Regions from separate parts of the Homo sapiens genome. Here regions 1 and 3 are each linked to region 2. The links are contacts of gene promoters, found by promoter capture Hi-C in blood cells and fetal thymus (Javierre and others, 2016). All regions are on one chromosome and are shown on one strand. Each heading gives the region's core, a stretch centred on a gene start or on the middle of the fragment in contact. The rest is flanking DNA. Distances are from core to core; before and after follow the strand shown. Region 1 overlaps MEI1 (meiotic double-stranded break formation protein 1). Region 2 holds the start of SHISA8 (shisa family member 8). Region 3 overlaps MEI1 (meiotic double-stranded break formation protein 1).

Region 1 (4,447 bases), core at 1,175-3,674, 170 kb before region 2:
AGCAAAACATTTGGGTTCGAGAGTATAGAGATTGCTCAGGGTGCAGTAGCCAGTTGACCAGCAGGTTACATGAAGCGGGTGTTGCCTGGAGAAGCAGGAAAGCTGTTGGGTCAGAATTGTGGAGAGAGATGGATAGGGGGCAGGTTATTAAGCCTTGGATTATTTTACTTTTTTTTTGGTGGGGGGGGTGGAGTCTCGCTCTGTTGCTCAGGCTGGAGTTCAGTGGCTCGATCTCGGTTCACCACAACCTCCACCTCCCAGGTTCAAACGATTCTCCTGCCTTAGCCTCGCGAGTAGCTGGGACTACAGGTGCCCGCCACCACGCCTGGATACTTCTTGTATTTTTAGTAGAGATGCGTTTTCACCATATTGGCCAGGCTGGTATCGAATTCCTGACCTTGTGATCTGCCTGCCTCAGCCTCCCAAAGTGCTGGGATTATAGGCGTGATCCACCGCGCCCGGCCAAAGATGATTTTACTTTTGACTTTAACTTCCCAGAATGTTTACTGACGTGGTCCCTCTGAGGTGGGGTGGTTCAGAGTGTCTTTGGAAAGCACAACTAGAAGGAAGAATGAAGAGTGAGAGCTGCTAAAAAGAATTTAAAGAGGCCGGGTATAGTGGCTCACACCTGTAATCCCAGCACTTTGGGAGGCTGAGGCTGGAGGATCGCTTCAGCTCAGGAATTTGAGACTAGCCTGGATAACCTGAGGAAACGCTATCTCTACAAAAATTATCCAAGCTTGGTGTATGCCTGTAGTCCCGGCTACTCAAGAGGCTGAGGCAGGAAGATTGCTTGAGCCCAGGAGATTGAGGCTGCTGTGAGTTGTGTTTGTGCCACTGCACTCCAGCCTGGGCAGCAGAGCGAGACCCTGTCTCAAAAACAAAAACAAAAACAAAAACAAACCCAAGAATTTAAAGGTGGTGGAACTAGGGCTTGATGATCGTGTAGGATCGTCAAACTTGGAGCTTCCAGAGATGAAGAAGGAAAGGGGAAATCAAGCCGTAACCATATGCAGTTGACTGAGAACCTGTTAGAAGGCCCAACAGATGGCTCTCAGTGCTCAACAAAGGCTCAGGGATGAGGGTCTTGCTCTGTCACCAGGCTGGAGTGCTGTGATGTGATCTTGGCTCGCTGCAACCTCCAACTCCCTGGTTCAAGCGATTCTCCTGCCTCAGCCTGCCGAGTAGCTGGGATTACAGGCACGCGCCACCATGCCCAGCTAAATTTTGTATTTTTAGTAGAGACAGGGTTTCATATCATAATGTTTTAAGAAAGTTTACAAATTTGTGTCAGGCTGCATTCAAAGTTGTCCTGGGCTGCATGCGGCCTGTGGGCTGTGGGTGGGACAAGCTTGCTTTAGAGGGGACATGGCCCTGACGACACCTCAATTTCAGATTTCTAGCCTCCAGAACTGTGAGAGGATAAACTTCTGTTGTTTTAAGCCACACAGTTTGTGGTAATTTATTATAGCAGCCCTAAGAAACCAATACCCTGTGAAATAGTCATTCATTCATTTGACATCTGTTCTATTAATCATCAACTTACAATGCATCTGTCTCTGTTTAGGTAAAGTGAAAAGATGGAACTGGTCCCTTTCCTCTTGGAAACTCACAATTAAACTAGTCAATGACTGTTGGCTCTTCTGAGTCTATAGAATCTGAGGGTTCAAATGGGCCTTAGGTGTTACCTGTCTACATTTACCCCACACTCATAATGATTGAATCTCCAAAAGTACTTTTCCAGTCTCTGCGTATAGTCTCATAGAATGGGGAATCACTTCTCCCTAGAGATGGTCCCCAATACTTCTATAGACTTTGACTCAGAAAATTCTCAGGCTGATGCTGGGCGTGGTGGCTCACGCTTGTAATTCCAGCACTTTGAGAGGCTGAGGCGGCAGATCATGAGGTCAAGAAACCCCGTCTCTACTAAAAATACAAAAATTAACTGGGTGTGGTGGCGTGCGCCTGTAGTCCCAGCTACTTGGGAGGCTGAGGCAGGAGAATCACTTAAACCCGGGAGGCAGAGGTTGCAGTGAGCTTAGATTGCGCCACTGTACCCCAGCCTGGTGACAGAGCGAGACTCCATCTCAAAAAAAAAAAAAAAAAAGAGAAAAGAAAGTTCTCAGGCTGGGTGCAGTGGCTCATGCCTGTAATCCCACACTTTGGGAAGCTGTGGTGGGTGGATAACTTGAGGTCAGGAGTTTGAAACCAGCCTGGCCAACATGGTGAAATCTCATCTCTACTAAAAGTACAAAACTTAGCTGGGTGTAGTGGTGTGCGCCTGTAGTCCCAGTTACTCAGGTGGCTGAGGCAGGAGAATTGCTTGGATCTGGGAGATGGAGGTTGCAGGGAGCCAAGATCACACCACTGCACTCCAGCCTGGGTGACAGAGTGAGACTCCATCTCTGGATCTTAGTAACATTTACCTGTTGATCCTGGTTTTCCTCGTTGAGTTAACAAAGTTTGATCCCTCTTCCCCAGAAGAGCTTATTACTTATTGGAAAACAGTAGCTGTCACTCTCTTGATGCACGTTCAATTCTAGGTAGTGCTTCTTTTACCAGCAGGCTCTCCTCTGCGAGAAAACCTTGTATCCTTAATAGTAATAATAGACACAGCTGACATTTATAAGGACTTATTACGTATTAAGCATCATGCTAAGTGTTTGGCATACATTATCGAATTTGATCCCCATAATAAGTCTATGAGGAGAGTACTATTAGCCTCATTTAATAGATGAGGAAATTGATGGTTAGAGAGGGCAAGGAATGTACAAGAAGTTGTGCAGTTAGATAAGCATTGAAGTAAGGATTTTTTTGAGACAAAGTCTTGTTCTGTCACCCAGGCTGGATTGCAGTAGTATGATCACGGCTCACTGCAGCTTCTACCTTCTTGGGCTCAGGTGATCCTCCCACCTCTGCCTCTTGAGTAACTGAAATCACAGGTGTATGCCACCACACTTGGCTAATTTTTGTGGAGACTGGGTTTCACCATGTTGCCCAGGCTGGTCTCCATCTCCTGGACTCAAGACATCTACTCATCTCAGTCTCCCAAAGTGCTGGAATTAACAGGCGTGAGCCACCATTCCTGGCCTGGAGTAAGGATTTTTATCAGATTAGATTCCATGTTCTGATCCAACTGCACTGCCTCTCATTGCCTGAGAACCTGGGGTTATCTTGGGAATACCGTTGCCTTACCGTGAACCTGCTTTTGTCTCTCTGGATGCAGGAAGGACCATCAGAGCACTCCACCTGTGCAGTATGGGGAACTGCAGGCTTTGCTAGAAGCCATGCTAAACCGATGTGCGGAGTTTTCCCAGACCTTGCTGAGCAGGAGGCCCCTGGTCAGTGTACTGCAGCCTGCTGCTTCCGAAGATCATGCTGCAGTGTGTTTTTAGAAAGATAATTAGTATATTCCCTTACTTTTGTATGCTATTTCATGACTTTTTCTCATGCACACATGGCTACAATGAGATGCTTTTTCCCTAATAGCAGAACTATGAAGCTTAAGGATTACTATTGTCATTTTTACAGATGGGGAAACTAAAGCCACGAGGGTTAAATAATTTTTCTCTAAGGTCCAAAACTATAAAGTACCTAAGCCTAGAACAGTAAATTCCAGGGTGTTTTTACCCCAGTCTATTACACACATTCTCTGTTTATATCATATAAGCAGATAGGGTAAACATGCTCACAAAATTATTTAAGTCTGAATTCACTAGAATCTTAGAATCTGACCAATGTGCCATGTGTTGTAGCTGCTGGCTTTTAATAGCCTGTAGACTTAAGATATCAGGAAAGACACTGTCAGTGTGAATGTTGATTATGTCTTTCAGGATTAACTTTGGAAACTAAGCTCTTTACACCTGATGGAGTGGGGATTTTCTTGTGTTTTAGAGCAACTAATAGGGCCATTATAGTCAAGCTAATGCCCACTAGCCTGTGACAGCTTTCTGCATATAATAGACCAATAGTCATTCCTGTGGTTCAGAGAGACTGTAGGTTAGGGTCCCTCCAACACTGCTACCATTTTTTTTTTTCCCGAGATGGAGTCTTACTCTGTGGCCCCAGTCTGGAGTGCAGTGGCACGATCTCGACTCACTGCAACCTCCGCCTCCCGGGTTCCAGTGATTCTCCTGCCTCAGCCTCCCGAGTAGCTGGGATTACAGGCATGCACCACCACACCTGGCTAATTTTTGTAATTTTAGTAGAGACAGGGTTTCACTGTGTTGGCCAGGCTGGTCTCGAACTCCTGACCTCCACCTCGGCCTCCTAAAGTTCTGGGATTACAGGCATGATCCACTGCGCTGGGCCCCTGCTACCATTTTTTTTTATTCTGAGACGGAGTCTTGCTCTGTTGCCCAGGCTGGAGTGCAGTGGTGCGATTTTGGCTCACTGCAACCTTCGCCTCCGGGGTTCAAGCAATTCTCCTGCCTCAGCCTCCCTAGTA
Region 2 (4,514 bases), core at 1,919-4,418:
CTAGCTAATTTTTGTATTTTTAGTAGAGACGGGGTTTCACCATGTTGGCCAGGCTGGTCTCCAACTCCGCCGGTCTCGGCCTCCCAAAGTGCTGAGATGACAGGTGTGAGCCACCGCGCCCGGCCCAGGATGCCTTATTTACCTGCCTGCCTAACTGCCCCTGCAGCCGCGGCTTCTGCTGGGACCTGGGATAAAGCTGCCATCACGGGCATGAAGGACAGATGGGTGACGGAATGGGGATGTTGGGAGACCCCCTGGTGGCAGCCCAGGACCCACAGGCTGTGTGACCTTGGACAGCCACCTCCTTGGACCCAACACCCAGCCCCCACCCAGCTGTGATGTGACAGTGTCTGCAGCCCAGCTGCCTTCAGAACCCGGAACCCATGATTTTCTCCCACTCAGCCTGACCCTCCTTCCGGGGCTAGAGCCTCAAATGGCTGATTCGTGAAGGTCATTCAGGAGGCAGGACACCAGGGATGGCCGAGGTTTGGCTTCAGGTTTGGTGGCAGGGTCTGAAACCATCCTAGTACCTGCCTGGGCTGACCTTCCTGCCCTGCCCTCTCCCCAGAGGCTCACCTCTGTGGCCTCATCTCTGGGCAAGCACCTCAAGCTCCTGTCTCCCTGACAGCTGAGTAACCACCACGCCTCTGGGCCTTTGCACAAACTCTTTCCAGATGCCCCGCCCAAGCCCTCTGAGAAGCCTTCCCTGGCCTTCAACCCCAACACAGCAGAATGAAGGGTGAGACTCGAGGGGAGGACAGGGACTCAGGACACACCCACACACAAGCCTACGTCCCATTCCAGGTCTCCCCAGCAGAGAAAAGGGAGTTGGGGCCATGGGAGCCTGAAGCCCAGAAAGGAGAAGGGACTGGCCTACACCACACAGCACAGCAAGGGTGGGCATGGCTTTCCTGCGGCATCACCAAACCTGCTGCCCCATCCCCAGCAGGTGCAGGGAGTTCAGGATGAACATGTCAGCTGGGCTGCTGCAGCCACCCCTCACCATCGCAGCCCTAAGTTCCTTTTTCCCCGCCCCTGTCAAAGACATATCCAGGCCTCTTCCAAGCTACCCTCACCCATCATGGGGGACCCCCAAATTTGGGCAGCCCAGCCCCTACCCCTGCAGCATCCAGAAGCCAGGCCAGGAGGCTCCACCTCCTGAAGGCAGTGCAGAAGCTGAGGGTGGAGGCCAGGGTGCCAGCCCGGGCTTCCCTTAGAGCTCCCTGGGAGAAAGTGGGCTACGTGGTTTCGGGAGCGAGGGGTGCTGAAGTGCCAAGGAAGCCCTCACCCCCTGCCTCTGAGGCCCAGGAGGGGGAAGTGTCCACATCTGGCCTGCCAGGGTATGAAGGCTTCTCTATGGTCACTTTTAAATACCAGCCTGTCACATTCGGTGTCAGCAGCCCACAGGCCCAAAGGGTGCTGGGACCGGGTGGATGAGGAGGGCACAGGCCCCAGGGCATGGGGGTTGCTGGGGGCATGTGAGTGCCACGTGTGGCATGTGGGTGGGAGTTCCAGGGTCAGGACACATAGAGTCCTAGAGTCCTCGTTCCAACCGAGGAAGGGGACCTGGACCCTGTAGTGCCCACTTCACACCAAGCTCAGAATGCAACAAGCACCTGTCCTGGCCTCAGCAACACACGACTGTGTTCCAGAGTCCCCTTTCTACGCAGAGGGAGCCCTGACCTTCACCTGGGAGCTGTGGCATGGGGTGAGTGGGGGGAGGCCTTTGAAACCCAAGGAGGGAAGGGCAGCCTTGAGTCACAGCTGTGGGGGCAGGGGAGAGGCAGGAGGTGGAAGAGGGGAGGGAGGAGTGGGGAGAAGCAGGAGATGGGCACCCAGAGAACCAAGCGCCCCTTCCTTTCCCGTGCCCAAGACGCCCGGTCACCTCCCTGGCCAGCGGCGCCCCTTACCCTGGACAGTGACCCGGTGCCCTCTGTGCAAGGCTACCTGTCCCCCTCCCAGCCCGCCCCCACCCCCCTGCCCTCCAGAGGAGACTCGAGCAGGGAAAGGCGGTGCGGCGCCCAGCACGGGCAGAAGGTCAAAGGGAGTCAGGGCGGTGTCAGGTGTCTCCCTGATGAAGTGTTGGGGGGGCGGCGGGGGGAGAAGGAGACAGGAAAACCCAGAGAAGGGGCCTGCTGGGAGAACCAGCGCTTCGAGAGCGGCGGGAAGGATCAGCGGGCAGGGAGAGCAGTCCGAGGAGCAGGCGGGGGTCCCTGGGCGGCGCGTGCTCACCTGGTCACTGTGCGCCGCGCGCGCGGGCTGTGCGCCCTCTCCAGTCCCAGGCGCGCCCCGATGCCGGCCAGCACCAGCAGCGCTGCGACGCCGCACACAGCGTAGACGGCCGTATGGCTGCGCTCGCGGCCGGGGTCCCGGGGCGCTGCGGTGTCGCGGGCGCGGGCGGGCGGCCGGCCTGTCTGGACCCAGGCCGGCGTGTCGTAGTTGGAACAGCGGCTCTGGTCGAGGCGCCGCGGCCCGTCGTGGCAGCAGAAGCGGTAGCCGCACGTGCCGCAGCAGAAGCTGTAGGCTCCGGAGCTGCAGTTGAAGGGCGGGTCCCACTGGCCCATCACGTCGTAGTAGCCGCGGCAGCGGTCGCCCCCCTCCGGGGCTGTCGTGCCGGGCGCCGCGGGACCCTGCGCCTCGGGGGCTCCCGCGCGGCCCGACGGCGGCCGCGCCAGCAGCAACGCGAGCCGAAGCGCGAGCGCGAGCCGGAGGCCGGGAGGACGGCGGCCGCCGAGCAGTCCCCGCGCCCCGGCCCGCGCCATCGGGCCCGCGCCTCCCGCTACTGCGCCCGGTGCATGGCCGGGCGCCGCGGCTCCCTCCGGCTCGGCTCCTCCGCTCCCGCAGGGATCGCGCTGGCTCCCGGCGCACGCCGCCTCGGCCGTCGGCCTCCTCTGGGGACCCCAGCCCCGAGTGGGCTGGGTCTGGAGCTCCGAGGCCGCACCTCCGGTGGGCGCGTCCTCCGCCCGGGCTCACCTCGGACCCGAGCTGCCCGGTCCGCGTCCTGAGATCTTCCCCGGGCCGGGCGGCGGGTCCTCGCCTGCGCGCGGCCCCCGGCTTCTCCCCGGCCCGGCAGGTGTGCGGGTCTTGGCCCTAGCGGAGGCCGCGCCGGGGCCGCGGGCCGCCCGACTGCGCTACCTTCCCGCCGCGCTCTCAGTACAGCCCGCGCTCTGGCTCCGGCTCCGGCTCCGGCTCCCGCTCGGGCTCGGCGCGGGCTCGGGCGGGCGGGGGAGGGAGAGAGGAGGGAGGGCGGAAGGGAGGCAGAGCCGGGGGAGGAGCGCGGCTGCCGCGAGGGGCGAGAGGAGGCAGCAGGCCCCGCGGAGCCGGGAGGCCCCACAGGGAACCCCCCTCCACAAAGACTGCCCCGAAACATTCATCGGAACTGGGCGCTCGAAGGGGATCAGTTCTAGGGCCCGCGACTAGAGCGTCCCTGTCTTACAGGTGCGGGGACCTGTACCTTACAGGCGCGGAGGTCAAAGCAGCCCGGAATTGCCCCGGGACGGGCAGGGCCACCCTCTCACCTCCTTCCCGTCCCCTCTGTCCGTTCTGATCATAACATAAGGAGGGCCCCTTCCCCTCTCGGCGCCTCGATTTTCCCACCTGTCAAATGGGAAGGACTTCCCCTGGCAGCGCCGCTTCAGAGGGCCAAGGATTTACCCCACGGCGCGAGCCCAGTTCCAGAACCCCTCGAACGCTGGGCTGGGGTCCAGGGATGTCCCCATCCCTGCGTCGATGGGCACGGCTTGGCTGACGCACTTCCGCGATCTGCTCCCTCCCCAGGTGTGAGGAGAGGGGGACTGGGCTCGCCCCTGCCCTGGAAAAGGAAAGCCTGGAAAAGGAAGACCTCCGCCCTGCGCCCACCCGCAGGTCCTTTCACAAACCGAGGGGTAGGGTGTGGGGGCCCTAAGGAGCCCGGACCCGGTCCCAGCACGGCCCAGTGGTGTTTTCGGGGTTGAGTTGAACTGGAGAAGGTCCTGGTGCTTGGCTTCTCCCTGCCTCAGTATCTCATCTTAACATCAAAGACTCTTCCTGGAGGGCAGACTCATAATCTGCCCCTTCCAGGAGATAGGGGTCGATATGGAACCTCCCTCTGTCCAGACGGAAACAGCAGGAGGGCAAGGACTGGGCGTGCAATTCACCCAGTGTGCAGCTCAGGCCTCTGTCGGCATTTGCTGAATGAATAAATGAATGAAAGGACTCCAGCGCCTAGTTTCTGTGAGATGAAACATTTGGGGCTCCCTAGGGTCCCTCCTGGTCCCCTTTCCATCCGTCCTTCTCTCAGCAACTGGGACCAGCTTATGAAAGTGGAGAAGGTGGGGGAGAAGAAGAGGAAGGATTTACATTTTAAGGAGGATCAAGTCTGTTGCCTGACATGAGGGGCTGACAGACTAATTTCAGGTATTAATGGGTTCAGACAGGAAGAGGAGGTGACCTCCCCACTCAGAGCTTCTCCTTGTGCCCTGGCCAAAGACAGCCTGCTCCCTCCACCTACACACACACATGTGCACACACATGTA
Region 3 (4,878 bases), core at 372-2,871, 200 kb before region 2:
TATTCAGATCACAACGCAGCTGAAGCTGGAGCAGACTATCCGTTGCCTGCTGGATGAGTGCCACAAAGAGGTCAGAAAATAGCTATGGGTTCTTGAGTCTCTCAGAATCCTCAGATGTCAGAGCTGGGTCAACCCTTTGAACAAATGAGAGATTGAAGTCCAGGGAGGAAAAGGAGCTTTCCTGAGGTCACTGAGTTGGTGGCAGAGTCAGAGCTAAGGCCTGGGTCCACTGATCATGCTCCAGTGTTCTTTACAGCTTTCTTCTTTCCCCTTTCAATCTCCCAAATGTTACCTCCATGCAATGAAGTGCCATCTTTCTGGCATAATCATCCCATGGTTCATTTTCCGTGACTTCCTAATTATAATACAGATTTCCTTGATGAAGTTGTCAAGGAAATATGTTCTCTATGTCTTGTTTTGGTGGTTTTATTTAATTTTGAATTGTATACATTACTTAGTACTGAAGGTGTTTGGTTCTATCAGCTTACTTTGTACTGAAGGCGTTTGCTTCTATCTGAGGTAAGCATTGAGTGGATATGGTATGTTTAATCTGCTTTCTTCAGTGTAGTCAAAGAAATTAGTTAGCCAGGCACAATGGCTCACACCTGTAATCCCAGCACTTTGGGAGGCTGAGGTGGGTGGATCACTTGAGGTCAGGAGTTCGAGATCAGCCTGGCCATTATGGTGAAACCCCGTCTCTACTAAAAATACAAAAAAAAAAAAAAATTAGCTGGGCGTGGTGGTGCATGCAAGTAATCCCAGCTACTGGGGAGGCTGAGGCAGGGGAATTGCATGAACCCAGGAGGTGGAGTTTGCAGTGAGCTGAGATCGCACCACTGCACCCCAGCCTGGGTGACAAAGCAAGACTCCATCTAAAAAAAAAAAATATCAGTTAAAGAGCAGCTTTTGTGTTGTATTTAAGACTGAGGAATAATATCAGAATAACTTTTTATTTAATTTGCAGAAGGAAAACAAATGTTTATCTTGTTAAAACCATCAAGAACATTTCATTATAAATTATATTTCAATTATATCATAGTTATTTTACATATGATTAATATGTCAGATTGAATTTATAATTATATATATCAGTGCTTATGATTATGATGAGATGATGCCACTTAACATTTATTGAGCACTTTCTATGGGCTAGGGATTGTATGAGGTGGTTTATATGTAATATCTCATTCAGCCCTATCAACAACCCTATAAAGCTGTTACTATTATTATTTCCCACCAGAGTTAAGAATCTTGCCAAAAGTGGTATGACTAGCTAGTCAATAGAAAAGGTAAAATATGGACTATTGACTCTCCCTGTAAAGCATGAAGCATAGTGCCTGGTATACAGAGAATGTTCAGTAATAGGAGCTATAATAACTATGATAACAATAATTTTTTTTTTTTTTTTGAGACGGAGTCTTTCACTGTTTCCCAGGCTGGAGTGCAGTGGCGCAATCTTGGCTCACTGCAAGCTCCGCCTCCCGGGTTCACGCCATTCTCCTGCCTCAGCCTCCCGAGTAGCTGGGACTACAGGCGCCTCCCACCACACCCGGCTAATTTTTTGTACTTTTAGTAGAGACGGGGTTTCACTGTGTTAGCCAGGATGGTCTCGATCTCCTGACCTCGTGATCCGCCCGCCTCGGCCTCCCAAAATGCTGGGATTACAGCGTGAGCCACCACGCCTGGCCAACAATAATTTTTTTTTTTTGCATCGAGTCAGTGTTCTGTCTTTATGACATTTCAAACTTTTGTCCCCCAACTTCTGGTTCTATGGAGGCAAAATATGTAGATTTTAATTCAGTTTAACAAACATGCACTGAGCTAGGTACTGAGGACTCTGAGAGGACTCAGTCCCTTTCCTCTGGGAGTTCCCAGTCCAGTGGGGGAGCTGGACACTAAGCTAAAAAAGCTGATTGCTGACTGTGGTGAGAGACACATGCAATACAGGCATTGGTGTGGGTAGGGAAAGATCAGTTTTGGTGGAAGATCTGTCCTGATCCTAATTGACAGAATGGAGCATATTCACTTTCTGTAGCTGTGTAACATGCCCTCCATGCGAGGCAGCCTGGCCACCCTGACCCTTCTTGGCAAGTTGGTGGATGCCATCCCTGCTCTGGCAGACGAGCTTGTAATGGAGCATGGTGAGTGACCTGTGGGAGGAGCTGCCACTACCCTTTTACCTGCTTTTATCATACTGCCATTTGGGTGTCCCATTCACTCTGTACACCTGGGAAGTCATTACTTTCCTGCTTTAGCCTTCAGTTTCCCCGTCTGCAAAATGTACTGTATGTCGGTCAATTTGAAAAAGGTCAGTTTTTTGACTCTATTCTTGGACTATTTCCATTCATTCTTTTTTTTTTTTTTTTTTTTTTTTTTTTTTTTTTTTTTGAGACGGAGTCTTGCTCTTGTTGCCCAGGCTGGAGTGCAATGGCGCAATCTCGACTCACTGCAACCTCCACCTCCCGGGTTCAAGCGATTCTCCTACCTCAGCCTCCCGAGTAGCTGGGATTACAGGCATGTGCCACCACGCTGGACTAATTTTGTATTTTTGGTAGAGACGGGGTTTCTCCATGTTGGTCAGGCTGGTCTTGACCTCCCAACCTCAGGTGATCCGCCTGCCTCAGCCTCCCAAAGTGCTGGGATTACAGGCGTGAGCCACCACGCTGGCCTTCCATTCATTCTTTTTTTTTTTTTTTTTTCCCTGAGACGAGTCTTGCTCTGTTGCCCAGGCTGGAGTGCAGTGGCGCGATCTCGGCTCACTGCAAGCTCTGCCTCCCGGGTTCACGCCATTCTACTGCCTCAGCCTCCCGAGTAGCTTGGACTACAGGCGCCTGCCACCATGCCTGGCTAATTTTTTGTATTTTTAGTAGAGACGGAGTTTCACCATGTTAGCCAGGATGGTCTCGATCTCCTGACCTGCTGTTGGACCCGCCTCAGTCTCCCAAAGTGCTGGGATTACAGGTGTGAGCCACCACGCCCGGCTCCATTCATTCTTTAACACAAATTAATTAAGTACCTACTATGAACCTTCCTTTTGGATGGAAGGAGGAATTCTGGAATATAGAAGCACTTTTTTCTGTCAGTGAAATGCAAATAAATATCTCCCAGAGGATTTACCAAAGGGTAAATAACTTCTTTAAGTTGGTTTCCCCTTTTTAAAAAAATTAATAATAATAATAATAATTTTTTGAGACAGAACCGGGCTACAGCGCAGTGGCATGATCTTGGCTTACTGAAATCTCTGCCTCCCAGGTTCAAGTGATTTTCCTGCTTCAGCCTCCTGAGTAGCTGGGATTATAGGCGTCCGCCACAACACCAGGCTAATTTTTGTATTTTTAGTAGAGGTGGGGTTTCGCCATGTTGGCCAGACTGGTCTTGAACTCCTGACTTCAAGTGATCTGCCCACCTCGGCCTCCCAAAGTGGTGGGATTACAGCCATGAGGCACCATGCCCAGCCTAATTATTATTATTTTTTAGAGACCAGATCTCACTATGTAGAGCAGGTTGGTCTCAACCTGCTGGTCTCAAGTGATCCTCCCACCTTGGCCTCCCAAAGTGCTGAGATTTCAGGAATGAGCCACTGCACCTGGCTTTCTTTTTCTTTTTTCTTTTCTTTTTTTTTTTTTTTGAGTTGGAGTCTCGCTCTGTTGCCTAGGCTGGAGTGTGGTGGCATGATCTCGGCTCACTGCAACCTCTGCCTCGTGGGTTTCAGCGATTCTCCTGCCTCAGCTTCTCAAGTAGCTGGGATTACAGGCGTGTGCCAGCATGCCCGGCTAATTTTTGTATTTTTAGTAGATGCTGGGTCTCGTCTTGTTGGCCAGGCTGGTCTCGAACTCCTGACCTTAGGTGATCCTTCTGCCTTGGCCTTCCCAAGTGCTGGGATTACAGGTGTGAGTTACTGTGCCCAGTTTGGTTTTGCCTTTAGATTAAGCATGCAGAAAGCATTTTTTGTGGGGGATTATAGGGACTTACCATTACTACCCCGTTAGGAATAATAGATTGGAGTTTCATATAGCAGTTGACATTGTGAAATTTCCCTTGGCTCCTTGGTTGTTTTCTGGACAGGCAACCTGATGGAGCATCTGTTGAGAGGCTTAGTATACCCCAGTGAGGGCATACAAGCTTCTGTCTGTTACCTTTATGGGAAGCTATACTCCTCACCAGTGGCAGCTGAGATGCTTTCAGGACACTTCCGTGAGAAGCTTTTTCCCCTCTTCCTTTCCATCCTGGATGGTGCCCAGACAAAGGAGCTGCAGATTAACTGCTTGGGTAAGACATGAGGCTGGAGAAAAAAGGGAGAATAAGTTTTTGACATTTTGCTAGAAGACTTGAGATATTGGGTTCTCTAGTAGTGGGGAAGTTTGCTGTTTTGCAAAAGGTAGAAGCCACAAGGCTTGAGAGATAAGAGACACACTGTGTGAAAGATGCCTAGAGTTGGTATGACATCTTAAGAATGTTGCCTTTGGAGGAAAATAGGAAGGAAAGTGGGACAGCAATTTTTTCTGCCTTTACTGCCTGCCCTGGTGCATCCTGTATTTGCTGGCAAGTTAATCTTTACATTGTATAGCTCACGTCCTGTCACTTTCTTAAGTCAGAAATTCTTCCATGGTTCCCTCTGGCCTCCAGGGTAAAGCCTAGGTGTCTTAGTGCATTTTATGCTGCTATAACAGGATACCACAGACTAGGTGATTTATAATGAAAAACTTATTGGTTCAGAAATTTATTGGTTTGTAGTTCTGGAGCCTAGGAAGTCCAAGATCAAGAGGCTGGCAGTTGGTGAAACCCCTCTTGCTCTGTCATCCCATGGTGGAAGGGCAAAGAGAGGGCAAGAGAAAAAGCTAGAGGGGACTGAACTTGTCCTTTTTTTTCTTTTTTCTT

The links. The method cuts DNA at HindIII sites, captures the fragments that hold promoters and counts their contacts. A CHiCAGO score of 5 or more calls a contact.
Region 1: a fragment that was not itself captured here is called in contact with the fragment with the promoter of SHISA8 in region 2 in 4 of 17 cell types (endothelial precursors, naive CD4 T cells, erythroblasts and 1 more); the score reaches 7.3 in endothelial precursors.
Region 3: a contact is called between a fragment that was not itself captured here and the fragment with the promoter of SHISA8 in region 2, in 1 of 17 cell types (M1 macrophages). The highest score is 5.7, in M1 macrophages.

The regions. Positions count from the first base shown.
Region 1 is chr22:41,739,854-41,744,300 of GRCh38, forward strand. It overlaps MEI1 (meiotic double-stranded break formation protein 1), which reads left to right. Exons shown (of 31, transcript NM_152513.4): 12 at 3,227-3,341. Among named protein-coding and RNA genes, the nearest start is that of MEI1, 43 kb to the left of the region's middle. The HindIII fragment of the contact is 2,151 bases long and covers 1,350-3,500 here.
Region 2 is chr22:41,911,906-41,916,419 of GRCh38, forward strand. SHISA8 (shisa family member 8) reads right to left here and starts at 3,169. Exons shown (of 4, transcript NM_001207020.3): 1 at 2,233-3,169. The coding sequence starts at 2,762. RefSeq lists silencers at 2,368-2,477, 2,548-2,627, 2,768-2,847, 2,888-2,957, 3,028-3,107 and 1 more and an enhancer at 2,470-3,395. The HindIII fragment of the contact is 20,830 bases long and covers 1-4,514 here.
Region 3 is chr22:41,714,006-41,718,883 of GRCh38, forward strand. MEI1 (meiotic double-stranded break formation protein 1) reads left to right here. Exons shown (of 31, transcript NM_152513.4): 4 at 1-70; 5 at 2,036-2,141; 6 at 4,066-4,269. Among named protein-coding and RNA genes, the nearest start is that of MEI1, 17 kb to the left of the region's middle. The HindIII fragment of the contact is 4,997 bases long and covers 1-4,120 here.